3 separate regions of the Homo sapiens genome follow, and all the other regions are linked to region 2. The links are contacts of gene promoters, found by promoter capture Hi-C in blood cells and fetal thymus (Javierre and others, 2016). All regions are on one chromosome and are shown on one strand. The core of a region is centred on a gene start or on the middle of the fragment in contact, and the rest is flanking DNA. Distances in the headings are between cores, read along the strand shown. Region 1 overlaps FSTL4 (follistatin like 4). Region 2 holds the start of FSTL4 (follistatin like 4). Region 3 overlaps FSTL4 (follistatin like 4).

What was found. The method cuts DNA at HindIII sites, captures the fragments that hold promoters and counts their contacts. A CHiCAGO score of 5 or more calls a contact.
Region 1: a fragment that was not itself captured here is called in contact with the fragment with the promoter of FSTL4 in region 2 in 1 of 17 cell types (M0 macrophages); the score reaches 5.2 in M0 macrophages.
Region 3: a contact is called between a fragment that was not itself captured here and the fragment with the promoter of FSTL4 in region 2, in 2 of 17 cell types (endothelial precursors and M0 macrophages). The highest score is 6.1, in endothelial precursors.

What each region holds. Positions count from the first base shown.
Region 1 is chr5:133,410,684-133,415,279 of GRCh38, forward strand. All of the region lies in intron 3 of FSTL4 (follistatin like 4), which reads right to left. Among named protein-coding and RNA genes, the nearest start is that of MIR1289-2, 15 kb to the right of the region's middle. The HindIII fragment of the contact is 4,456 bases long and covers 196-4,596 here.
Region 2 is chr5:133,609,306-133,614,017 of GRCh38, forward strand. It overlaps FSTL4 (follistatin like 4), which reads right to left and starts at 3,236. Exons shown (of 16, transcript NM_015082.2): 1 at 3,020-3,236. RefSeq lists a silencer at 1,918-1,967. The HindIII fragment of the contact is 11,171 bases long and covers 1-4,712 here.
Region 3 is chr5:133,432,934-133,437,465 of GRCh38, forward strand. All of the region lies in intron 3 of FSTL4 (follistatin like 4), which reads right to left. Among named protein-coding and RNA genes, the nearest start is that of MIR1289-2, 7.5 kb to the left of the region's middle. The HindIII fragment of the contact is 1,111 bases long and covers 1,029-2,139 here.

The sequences.
Region 1 (4,596 bases), core at 1,174-3,673, 200 kb before region 2:
TCACAATAACAACATGCTTTTCTCCTTCATTCTACTTTTAAAGAAAAAAATGGCTCAGTTAAAATATCTAATATTAGCACAGAAAACTACCATTTTCTAATCAGGAGCATTTCAATTTCTCCTCTCAAGGATCTGCCCTTGTCTCTCAACGGGATTATCAGCCATAAAAACATGCACTGGATAATATCAAGACAAAGCTTAGTAACAATATCGGACAATCTGATTTCATCTATTCTCAACTTCAATCCCCTGGCTCAACCGAGCCAAGCAGTGGCTGAGGCCTCTGACAGGTGGGCCTGAGGGTTCTGGGAAGCTGGCTTTCCTGAATGCATGGGTGGGCTGGTCTGCTCTACCCCTGAGTACAGAAGAGCATGTGGAGACCAGGGGTCTCCACTGGGGCCTGACAACCTGTCTACTTCTATGAGAAGCTCACAGGGTCAGCAATTGCCCTATCAGGTACTCTCTGTGAGACCACCACTGCCTTAAGGTACTTCAGTGTTGCCTTCAAACAGGCTATGGAAAAGAACCATATACACTGGGAGCTCCAGCCTCTGAAAAAATGACTAGAATTACAGCTACTGCAGAGGAGGAGTGACACCTTAAATAGTGACAACAAAATACCAAAATGCCACGAGAATCAAGCACAGCACAAAGAAGGCTTTTGGGGGAACTATGATTTTTGAGCCAACAAGAAAATCAGGAGAATTTCAGGAAAGAATTTAAGGAGATAATGGTCACTATTGAGATGTCAAGTCTTCCAAGGTTAAGAATATCAGGGCAATTTAAGGAGACAATGGTCACTATTAAGACTCCAGTCTTCCAAGGTCAAGAAGAAGACATATCTCAAAACCTAGAGTGAAAATAGAAATAAAGAAAGTCTTAAAATACAGTAATAATTCCATTTAAAACTCTAAGGACAAAGAAATAGAAGAAAACTCCTTAAATAGCCAATCACTAACTGTTTCCAATTAAAATCAGGAGCCAGACAGGGATATTTGTTATCATCATTCTTATTCATAAAGGAAGTATAATAAGACAAGACAATGAAATAATCATTAACATTTGGAAAAGAAAGACAGCTAACAACGATCTCTTTTTGATGATTATGTATCTGTATACTTAGAAATCCAAGAGACTCCAGTGAAAAAATATTAAAATTATAAGAGAATTATGAAACTAGTTGGACAGATGATAAATATGCCAAAATTAATCATTCCTCTCAACAGTAGCAATAAATAATTAGAGGTGAAAAACGGAAAAACCACCTACTCATAATCATGGTAAAAACCATAAAATATTAGTAAACAAATTTGACAAGAAAGCCATAGGACCTATATAAAAAATGGCTGTAAAACCCTATTGAAGGTCATAAAATAAGATTGGAACATTGCTTATTCGTGGGTAGGAAGACATTCTCATAAATACACAAATTTAATGCAATCATTTTAGACTTAGATGAAATGATCTTAAAAAGTTCATTTGAAGTAATAAGTGCCCCCAGATAACCAAGGAAAATAAGAGAAAGAATACTGTAGGGGGATGTGCCTTCCCAGATACTAGAACATTCAACCCAGAAAGCTGCTGTGATAAAATCAATATGAGATCAACCTAGGAAAAGGCAAATCAGTGACTGCAGATTTGGCAATAAAATAGAAAACAGGATCCAGAAATAAATGCCAATGTATATGAAAATTAGATGTATAATAAGAGTTACCACTCCAATGGGAAAATGATAGCTCTCTGATAGATGATGCTGGGGCAACCTGCTATCCACCTAGAATGAAACAACATTGGAAACCTATTTCACACCACACAAAAAATCAAATTTGAATAACTATAAATGTTTAAATTATTTCTATTAAATAATGAGTAGACAGAAAAGAACACTTATCCACTCTATGGATGGCTTAAGCATTATCGTACAACAAACGGATGAATCCATTCATTTAAAGAAAAAGAACGGTGTCTTTCATTTTGAATTTTCCCATGTGTCCCTCTCCAGTTCTATTCCCTCATTGCCACACAGAGACCGTCATTAGCCTGAATTTTGTGTTTATCATTCTTTTGGTTTATCTCACCTTTGTATTTCTATGCAGTATGTTGTTTTCCATGTTTTTGAACTTTATATAAATGAATCACACTCTATGTACTCATCAGAGACTTTCTTCTTTTGCTCTCCCACGATATTTAGTTACACCCATGTCTGCATATAGTGGTGATTCATTCATTGTCCTTATAGTACCCCCACATAAACATGTTATTTATTTAGTTTATATTAGATTGTTTATTTGCCTTTTTCTGTGGTCCTCTTTCTCTCTTTTGGTTCCTTATTTTGAATCAAATACTTCACCCTGATTTTCTTCTTCTGCTCATATAAAAATTAAATATCTCTTTTATTCTTCTACTGTTTATCTCAAATTTTAAAATGTATAATTAAGCCAAAGTCTATAATCAACACTTTAACCCTCCCCATGAAGAACCTTAGAACACCTTAGAACCTTTCCTGACGTAACTATATGACAATACTGTATATTGTGAGTCTGTCTTTATTCCTCATAATTCCTTCTTATACCTCAAATTCTCTTTATGTTTGTCTAAAATGTCTATTTTATCCTAATTTTAAAGAGTTTTTTATGCTGTGTAATTACTCTTATGTTCGTGTATTTTTTTTCTTTCAACTTGATAAACCTTTTGTTCCCCTGCCCTCTGGCTTTGTTGAGATGTTACCTGATAGCCTTTTCATTCCCTTATAGGTAATCCATTTTTGATGTCTGGATAATTTTAACATCTTCTCTGGTTTTCTGCAATTTCTCTGTGATGCAAACACACATATTTCTTTGCATTTATTCTGCTTATAATTCATCAGGTTTCCTGAAAGTGAGGATTTCTATCTTTCATCAGTTCTTGAACATCCTTACCTATCTTCCATTAAATGGTATCTCTATTCCATTATTTTTCTCCCTCTTTTCCAGGTATTCTAATTAGAAATATGCTACAAATTTTCATTCTATTTAAGTATCTCTTATCTCTTTCGCATTTCCCATCTTTGGTTTTTCTATGTTGCATTCTGTATAATTTTTCAAATCCGTCTTCCAGCTCTTAAATTAACTCTTCAGCTATTTCTAACCTACTGTTACACTCTTCCACTGAGTTTTGAATTTTGAATTTTCAGAAGTTCTTTTTAGCCATTCATAAAGATGATTGGCCATTTGTATAATCTCTTGATTTTCAATCATATTTTTAATTTTTAAAAAATATTAAATATACATATTTTATATTCGGTATCATTTTGTTATTCACAGATTTTGTTGGTTCTTACATGGCATTCTCCTTTTGGTGTTTTGATTTCTTTTTAAAAGAGCTCACATTTTCTGGAATATAATCTGTGAAAATTTTTTGAGATATAGTTTGGATATAGGCTCTTCTTGATTGTGCCGGGCACCCAAGGACTCCACCATTCTGGGTTAAACTAAATTTTATGTTTGAGATTTTTCAGGTTACTCAGGTAGTTTGCATATGAGCTACAATTCCTTCTGGCGATCAGTCTATGGTTATACATTTTCAAGGAAATTTCTCTCTGTCTACTCAGTGCCAAGATTTGAGGCAGGAACATTTTCTTGCCAGTCCTTGGGACTGGGTGGATTTCTTTCTTTCTTGTTCACCCTTACACTGCAGATATAGCACTTGAGGGGCCCAGGTGTATATATATAGGGGACTGGGAGTGGGAACCTTCCACATATGCCTACCTCGGAAGGACCCTGGGATTTGTCCTTGGTATCCTGAGCCACGGAGGGTATGTAAACCAAAACCAACGTTCACCTAGTTTGGCAAAAGCCCTCAAGGTAAAGTCAGTCTCACAGCTATCTTACCTCTCTGGATTCCTGATTTCACTTGTATTTTTAGCCTCTAGGTAGTCCTTATTTTCTTACCAAGCACATCAGTGTTTAAAAGGATTTTAAAAAATATTTATCTGCTATGTTGCCAGAGGCAAAAGTCAGATTATGACTTTTAAAAACAGAATCCAACAATTAAAGAAACACTTCGAGGTAAATACCGGGGTATTATTTTCAACACGGCACCATTTAGCCCTTTGGAGAAGAGACAAGAACAATTCCTATTGCAGAAGAACCCTAGGAGCCTGGGTTATTGCCAGACAGCCTATTTTCATTTTCCTGAGCCCACCTGCATGTTAAAAGCAAGTTTAAACTCTCCTGCCACCAGGAATTTAAACAATAAAGAGAAGCCTATTAATGGGATACAATGGAGGAAAAAAATGGACACATTTGTTACCAATAACCTATGCACCTCTCTTCCACCTCCAAACCCAACTTAGAAGCCCTTAGCATCAGTACTTTCTTTCTTCGATATGTAGATGTGGCTGGCTACAAATACAAGGTCAGTGACTAGTTCCTTTTGAGCCACTTCTGATAGAAGAAATCAAAAGACTGAGTTGAGTTTGAAGTATCTTCTGAGCAGGCAATGCCTTGCTTTAGGCAGGCCCACCACAGTGTGGGTCTCGACCTATAATGTCATCTGATCTCTCATCTATGTTGGTCAGGACAAGCCTGTTTGACTGTCCGGCTCTCCTGAGATGGT
Region 2 (4,712 bases), core at 1,986-4,485:
TACATGGCATGTTGGCAATCAACATATAAAAATCAACTGGGATTCTGGAATTCCAAATACTGACTGAATACAACGTGGAATTCTCTTCTGCATGTCTGCTCAAATTTAAAGGGGGAAAAAAAGCCACATCAACCCCAGCGTGAAACCAGGAGGCTGTACGGGAACCTCTCAAAGGCTTACGACCCTAGTTTTGATATGTGAGTGTTTTAGAAAAAAAGAAAGTGGTACAGATTTCCTAAGACAGTCCCTAAAACACCAACCCAGGGAAATTAGGCATGGAGATATAGCAAGCTAACGTTGCAGCAAGCCCTAATGAAGTTAAATTGCATTTCCTATTAATTATCTACTCTATATCATTAGTTAATTCTTCCCCAACACTTGATAAATTAGATGGCTACATTATTCTATGTGCCATGTATAAATCTCTATTCCTATTTACTCTGACGTTTAACACAGACACACATGTGACTTCCAATAACCTTTATCCTTACAACCTTCAGCTCATACCTCTTAAGAACCACATGCTCTTGATTGCAGTTCTATTTTATTGGAAATTCCATGCCTTATGTTATGCATTGAGACAGAAAATGTAAAGAAAGATGTGCTCTTGAAATATCTAATTGCATTAAGCTAGGAAGCACACAACTAACCGCACATAAGCAACTCAAGAAGGTTGAGTTTGCAGAGAAACACTCAAACAAGGCAAGGTAGGAGTTAAGGTAGTTTTATGAAACAATGACTATTCAATGCTAGTCTCTGAATATAGTGTTAAGTCAAACAAAAGATCATAACGTGAAGGTCACATTTAAAAAGTCCTACGGCCCTTAGTAAAAGGAAAAAAAGTCCTCAGTGACTGACTGGTCATGGTGGAAAAATCCAACCTCCTCTTCCCTCACCCACCTCCAGGGCACAGCCGAAAGGATAAAAGTTCTCCTAATACCCAGAAAAACAAGCTGGCCTTTTCCAGAAGAAAAAGAGCTTTCCTAGAATCAACAAAAATTGAGGATGATCATAAAAGTCTAAGAGAGAAAAAAGCACTAGGACAACTCTAACGAGCAATTTAAATACATTACATCAAAGTGGACTATTTTCTTATGTGAACTTTGGCTCAGTCTGAAGTCTTTGGAGAGGGTGGTGCCTTTTTTTCCTAGGATGGGAGGGAAAAAGCGAACATTTAGCAGAGTATGGCAGAAATGGTCTAGTGATGCTGCAGTGCCTCCTTCTCACAACGCTAAGATGGGAAGCAGACACGTGCCCTGTAGGGCATCTGCTCGTATGTCCGGCTTGAGCTCCTGCCTGAGAGTTGCTGTGGCTCTGGAGTCTCAGAAGCTGCATCACTCACACCTCCGACCATTCCCTTCCCAGGTGGACCCCCCGCCAACCAGACCCAGAGTCTGTCCTGGGGGCCAGAGGGGCAGGCACAGAAACTGGCGCCTGGCTCCCAGGATTAAGAAGACACTATTAAAAAGCATCGCTGGTTTCCCCTAAATTTGGCAGTAGGAAAATAACTTAGGACTTTCAAGAAGAGTCCTAGTCGCTCACTGATCCGTCTTTTCCCCTCACAGATTGTGACACAGGCCCATTCCCGGTGAACATTTTGGCTGGCAGTTACTTCACCACCTATTGAAATTCTGTTTACGTTTGGCCCAGAGAACCTGGACGGATGTTTGTATCTCGGGGGCCCCATCTAGTACAATTCCTGGTGCACAGGCTTGCAACAAATTTACGAAGGTAACAGACCAAGCTGCCGGCGCTGTTTTTCACTGGAGGAAAGCTCGGCGGAAGCGACACCTAGAGGGGAGCGGCGGGCTGTGGCCGCGCCATTCATCAGTGTCGGCGGCCCGCGGCCGCGAGCGAGGGCTGCTGGACAGCGCCCCGGCACCCGCTCTCGAGCCGCGACACCGACCTCGCCGGGCCCGCCCCGCTGACCCGCGCACTCCTAGTGCACTTGCCGCGCCGCGCGGAGGCTCGCCGCGCTCTGGAAAACAAGAAACCCCACTGCCTCGGCGGCTTTCCGCTCCCGCAAGAGTTGCGGGCACAAAGTCCTCAGGTGGCAGGCCTGGGGTTGGCGCCGCTTTGTCGGCTGCAGGGAGCCCCAAAGACTAGCGTCAGCTCGTCCCCAAACTCGAGGCGACAGGCGCCGAAAGCAGAGTGCTGTGCCTGCCTCGTCCAGGTCCCTCCTGAAACTCAGAACTCGTCTTTGTTTTGCGGGCGCAAAGAGGGCGGAGATCATCCACAGTGCAAGCTCTCTTAGGACCAAGCCCCCAGCCCGAACGCTGAACGCCCCCAACACACTGCTCCCTAGACACGTTCAAGCGGGTACCCCGGGCCGCTCACTCTGGACCGCGGCCGGCTACGCACAAGCAGCGCCGCAGGCTGCCTGGAGTCGGGTCGTGCCCTGATTCCTTCCTCCCCAGCCTCACATGCGGCGGACCCCGGGGAAGCCAGGGCCAGGCGAAGCGCAGCGGGCCCTTTGGGCTGCAGCGAGGAGACGCAAGTTTCCCCGCAAAGCCGCGGGGAGGAGGTGCTGAGAATGCCTGCCCGGCGCCCCAACCCGGAGCCAAGGGCACCGGGCCCGGGCCGAGGGGCCGCGCTCGCCTGGCTCCGCCGGGGCCGCTCGGGGTCCTGAACCCAAGAACGGCGCCTGCAGGATTTCGGAGCCGGGCGCGAGCTGCGGGCTCGGCCCGAGCGCTTCTGCGTGGCGCCCCGCGTGCCAACCGGGTCACTCCGGTCCCCACCGTAGACCCCGGCCACGAGCCTCGGCGTCCCAGCCTCTCCTCGAGTCCTGGCCTTGGCCGGGGTAGCCCTGCCGAGCCCTGGCCCAGCGGTCCCTTCCCCGCGGGCAAACTTGGCTTTCCCGGCGCGGGCAGTAAGGACAAGCAAGCGCCCGCGCCGGGCCCTGCAGCAAGATGCGGGGCCGCGGGCGCCAGGACCCCAGTGGGGTGCAGCGGGACCGGCTGGTGGCGGCGCCAGCGACATGGCACCCTCCCCGCGCCCGCTGGGAGCTGCGCCCGCGTACCTGAGACGGCCGGGGCCGAGGGGAAGACCAGGTGGCCGGACTTGGGCGGGAGGGAGGGAGCACCCCGTGGCGGCGGCGGCGACCCCGCCCCGCGTCCTTCGGCTGGTTTCTCGGGCTGTCGGCGGGTCCCGGGCTCGCTGGAGGCTGTTGAGGCTCCAGCTCCCTGAGCCGCCGCTGCCCGCTGCTGTGCCACCGCCGCCGCGGCTGCCCTATTTCTGCCGCCGGGACCGGAGCCCGTGACGTCACCCTCTGGGCCCCGCCTGCCCAATCGCCGCCACCTGTGCGCGCCGCCCGCCCGCCAGCCGGTCAGACCCGCGCGGCGGCCACGGCAGGTGCGCGGAGCAGGCGGGCGCGCACGCGGGGCGCGATGACTCCGGAGCGCTGGGGCCATCTAGGGCCCGGAGGGAGGAGGGCCAGCGTAGCGCTCCTGCCTCTGGCTAGCGTGGAGCTCGGCAAGTGACAGCCCCTCTTCACCTCTGCTCTCCTCCAGGCTCCTTTCCGGGCCAGGTTCCCCAAAGCTGTGCTCTCCAGGCGCACAGGGGGTCTCTGAATCCGCGGCCATTGCTCGTGGAGTCCAGGCGGGCCGGTACACCACAGCAGGAGAGCTGTCCCTGGGGACAAAGTGGGTGAAATCCCCCGCCGTTGAGACCCAACAACCTGGGAAACAGCAAAGGTTTTCTCTTTTCTGAATCTTCCCTCTTCCAACTACAGAATCTTAAGACATTCAGGGCATACAGGGGCAATCCCAAGTGACATTTGCCTACCTGACCTAGCTGGGCCCAGAGGGTCCCTTCTCCCTTAGAACAGGATATTTCCCCATCCTGATCCCATCCCCAAGCCTGGGGCTCCCAAACTTTTCTGAATCCCTCTTTAACATCAGCAGCTTTTGAGATCAGTCTTCCTTCCCGAATGAACTGGAAACACCTTTGTAACAACTAGGGGCCCATAAATGGTCATACGTAGCCTCAGTCTGGCAGGAAACTTAGGAGGGAGCCCCTACCCAGGCCAGGCTGATGGCCAGGAGACTTTCTGAGGGCCTGCCTCCTGCTCTGGCTGCGTGGGCACCAGGGGCCTTCCTGGCTTAGGTGAACAGTGTTCTGTCCATGCCTCTGTAATCTCTCCTGGCCGGGGGGAGGTGACAGAGGGGATTTTTCTGAGGATGAAGTTAGTTAAATATAAGGAAAAGGGGAAGAATAATGGAAGGCTGACCTGAAGAAAGAGATATTACGTTTGTTTTTTCCTTCCACAGATTTTCCTGCCGCTGAACCCCTCCAATGCAGCAGGCACTGTGCTATTAATAGTTGCTAGAGATACAGCAGTGAATGGGCCAGCGCGGTCTTGGCATCACACAGTTTTGGTCTGGGGTCCAGCTCTCCCTCTATCACTGCCAAGCTATGTAATGCAGAGCCAATCGTATCTCTACTGTAGGTATCAGTTTCCCCACTTGTAAAATGAGGGGTTGGACAAAACCTGGTTGACTTCCCATGTGGATACCATGATTTTTACTCAGAAGGATAAAGGCTACTACATCCTCAGTGACCCTGGGCCCTAGCCAGTGTGATCCTCTCTCAGATTTGACTATGAATCTTTGCCAAGGCCACCATGACTGAACTTCTGGGGCTGGCTAGGGGCCAGATTCTCCATGGCAGGACTGGGGAAGGGATGGCACTTTTCATCTTGGGAAACAGAAAAG
Region 3 (4,532 bases), core at 334-2,833, 180 kb before region 2:
GTGTGGCATGGCCCAGATCTTTTAAGCAGTACTAAGAAATGGCTTACAAAGAGAGTGCAGAAGGCTTCTTGGGTTCTTTCTCATTAAAAGGCATCTGGCTCCTCTATTCTCTCTGCCCCTGACTCCTCAGGCTGTCAAAGAAGGAAAGAGAAATTTCAGGAGTTGCAAGGCAAAGAAAATCTAAGCTGTTCTCTTTTTCAGTGAACTAAAAGCCAGAGCTGAAATCCTGCATGTTTAAAACTAGAGCTCATTGGAATTCACCAAAACCTGGACAAGTTCCCCAGAGACCTGCAAAAGCTTAATAGTCCTATTTGTTTTTGAAGTAAGGGATACTGTGCAAATCCATTCCACCTGCCTGTCCATATTAGTGTCATTTTCTGGTCTGGTGGGTTAGACGGGGGAAGGATTACCCACTAACTGGCAACGGGGTACCCACGCAAGGGTAGGGCACCCCTTCAAGCCTGGAGATTTTCCAAAGTATTTGATTTTTTTGAGCACTGTTAGTAAGTCAAGCTGTTTGGCATGATTTACCTTTTTCAGTTTCAATGAAATGTTTTTGGTTTGATTTCTATTTCATTCATGTGGCAAGCATTTATTGCCTACTAAGTGCCAGGCAGTGTTCTAAGTGAATATAGCAGCCTGCAATGGAATTTATATTCTCATGGGCAAAGCTTAGACAATACAGAAAGGAGTCAGTTAAGAAAAAAAATCAGATGGTCGTGAGTGCAGACAATTAAAATACATTGATTCGATAGGTAAAGTCAGGGTGGCAACTCTGGGTGATCAGGAGGCCTCTTGGAGGAGGTGGATTTAAGCTGAGACCTCAGGAGAAGTCAGCTCTGTAAAGAGCTGGGGGAAGCACGGCAGGCAGAGGGAAGAGCTGGTGTCAAGGCCAGTGCAGGTGTCTGGGCCAAGAGGGGAGGCTAGAAAGGCTGAAGCAAGGCGGGAAGGGAGCGTGGCAGGAGATGAGGTCAGATAGGGAGGCAGCAGTGGGATTCCAGGGGCCTCCGAGCCATGGCAAAGGGAAAAGCTTAGGATTTTTTTTCAAGGTGTGATGGGAAAGCCCTGGAGGGTTTTAAGCAGAAGGTAATACAATCTGATTTACATTGAAAACAGATTACTATGGCTATTGCATGGAGATTGGTCTGCAACGGGGCAAAAGGGGAGGGAGGGAGACCAATGGGAGGCTTCTAAGTTTCTAAAGATGAAAGATGATGGTGGCTTTGACTAGGGCATAGTAGTGGTGATGAGAGAAGCAGACGAGACTCAAGGTGCGCTTTGGAAGTAGAGTTGATAAGACTTGGTTTGATGGATTAGATGAGGAGCTGTGGGGGAATGTTATAAAATAAATGGAATGTTTTTCAGAGAGAATAACTCCACATTTTACTATATTTCACCTTAGTCTTTTCCAGTTACATAAATATACATATGTACTTTATAAAATTGGAATCTGGAAGTAGTTTTATATCATGCTTTTAAACTTAACATTCTTTTTGTGACTATTTCCACAAGTCATAATTTTTAATGACTGAATAATATCTCATCATATGGGGCACACCATATTTCCTTTAACCAGTCACTGCTTGACATTTGGGCTGCTTCCAAAACTTCTGCTTTGACAAACAAAGCTACAGTAAACATCCCTGAACATAAATCTTTAGGCAATCTCTGATTTTTTTCCTTGTGATAAATTGCCTGAAGTGGAATTACTGAATCAAAAGCATGTTTAAAAAGAGACTTAATAAATAAGTACTGCCAAATTACTGGCCACAGAGTTGGTGCCATTTTATATTTTCATTGGCTACATTTGAGAGTCCCCTTTCACTCTATCCTTGCTAAAACTGAATTTTATCATTAAAAATTGCTGATTTCATGGCCAAAAATATATTGTTAACTGTTTTAATTTGCCTTATTTTGATTATTAGGAAGGTTCAGAATCTAATATTTAATAATGATGTGTATTTGGTGGATGGATGTGAATGTCTGTGTGTGTGTGTGCCCTCTGTTCATGTTCTTCACAAACTTTTCTATGTGGATGGTCATCTTTTTTATTGATTACTAGGAGCTCTTTCTATAGTAAAGTCATTCATAACTCCAACTATTTTTCCCCAGTTTTTCATTTGCCTTATGATATACAGAAGCTTAAAGATTTTATGTCATCAAATATATCAACCATGTCTCTAATTGTATCTTCCTTTTTTATGTGGTTTAGGAAAGCCCCACTCACCTTAGTAAAAGTACAAAAATATCTGCTCATATTTATTTGAGGTCTTTTATGATTTTATGTGTTTTATTTAACTTTTTAAGCCACCATTTCCCAAGTGATTTCTGCAGAACATGAAACACCAGTCTCACAAAATACTCAAGTAATTCTGGGAATAGCATGTGCTATAGTTCCCTCTTGGGATTGTAGCATGCACAGTAGCACCAAAGATGGTTAAAAGTCCTGCAATAAAAATATCTGCTTAACTTTGCTTACCATGGTGTTTTGCAGATGTATTTGACTCCAGAATCCTTTTCTTGTTATGTTTATTAATGTCGTGTAAGAGCGTTTTGGGACAAGTGCTTTAGAAGAGCCACCATATCCAACTGCAATATGAAGTCATCCACCTTATTAAAACAAATACTTAATCATTTGGCCCAGTACCATTTGAAAATAACTGATGATCCTTTTTCTCACAGTTTTGAAATGCTGTGTTAGGTTAGCACTATGTTCTAAGGTTTGCTCCTGGCCTTTCTGTTCAGTTCTACTGGTATGTTAAACTCTCACACTACGATTGTGCTCCTATTTTTCCTTTTATTCCTAACAGTAATCACTGATATTGTGTTATTTGGTACATAAAGCTCCATGACCACAGCATCTTCTTCATGGATTTTATCACCATAAAATGGCATCCCTTTTTCTCATTTAGTGTTGTTGCCTTGAATTCTACTTCCCCTCTAAATTGCTACCCTTGCTTTCTGTTTTTGTTTTTGACAAACAGAACTTCGCCCACTCTTTTTCCTTTAATCTCCTTATGCCATTTGGCTTTAAGTGTGTGTCTTTTCATTCTCTCATGCATCAGAAATGTATTAATACTTCCCACATGCCAAGTGTTAGGCACTAGAGAATACAGTGGTAATCACAAAAAAATACAATGCTTACCCTCTTCTGAGGGTATTCTAAGTATAGTATTTATTCTAAGTATAGTATAAAAGACAGACATCAGCCAATAGTTTCATAAGTATATGTAAAATTACAATGGTGGCCTATGTTTTATGGTATATGGCATTATGAGCTAAGTGCTACAAAAGTTTACAATGGAAGGACAATTTAGTTTGGTGGAATTGGCTCAGGAAAGGCTTTCCTAAGGAGGGGACACTTGGGCTCAGCTCCAAAAGATGTGTTTGTTAACTAAACTGGGTAAGGGGGAGGCAGTGGGAGTGCTCCAGATGGAGGATGACCTGTGGCAGGAAGGAGTGTGTTGTCAGTTAGTGGGGTTAGGCATGGAGAACAAAGAGAACATGGTGTGAGTTGAGGCTAGAAAGGTTAATAGGGTCAGACCATGCAGGATCTTTTGGATCCTGCTGAGAATTTGAGCCTTTATTCTAGAAGCATTGAGAAGTTATTAAACAGTTTTAAGCAGAAGTTTTACAAGCAATGATATGCTGGAGACTACTATTTATAAGGGCAGATGATTCGTATCTCTTCCCGACTCTGTGTTCCATGACATCACTGGACTGGTCAACTGAAGTCATCCACGGTAGTAGTATTTACACTACGGAAATTGGCAAATGCTATAAATTAGGACTTTTCCCACCGAGAACCGGTTGTTAAACATTTATCAGCACACCACTGATTGACATAATCACCAATTGTGTTTTGAAAAGAAATCACTCTGGTATTTGGGTGGAAAACAGATTCCAGGGGAGCAAGAAAGAATGCAGGGAGACTGGTTAGGATGTGATTATGAGAGTCTTGTTGAGAAAAAACTGTATTTTGAATTAGAGTGGTGGTATTGGAGATAGAGAGAAGTGAATGGATTTGAGATGTGTGTAATATTTAGAGCCAAAAATATTAATGATGGATTGGATTGAGTTGCTACAGGAGAAAGAGGTGACAAAGATGGCTCAAAGATCTATGGCTTAGGAAGATGGATGAAGGGTGGTACCAATTACTGAGATAGAAGCACTGGTTGGAGAATGGTGCTTTTTTGGGTTGTTGTTTATTTGTTTTTCTGGCAGGAAGGTTAGTGATGGGGAAAGACCATGAGTTTAGATTTGGACATTCTGAGTTTTAGTTGCCGGTGAGGCACTCAAGTGCCTTTGTCAAGTAGGCAGTTGGACATATTGGCCTGGAAATCAGAGCAGAGGTCTAAGTAGGAGCCGTCAGTGACAGTCACCGCACTTGGGCACTATTTCAACCTTTGGGCATGGTTGAGGTAGCTTGAGAAGGTAATATGGAATCAGAACACAGGATTGCTCATTTAATCTCTAAGATTTGAGCTTGAAGAAAGAATATTTAGTAGCCAACATTTAATGCAAACTGTATA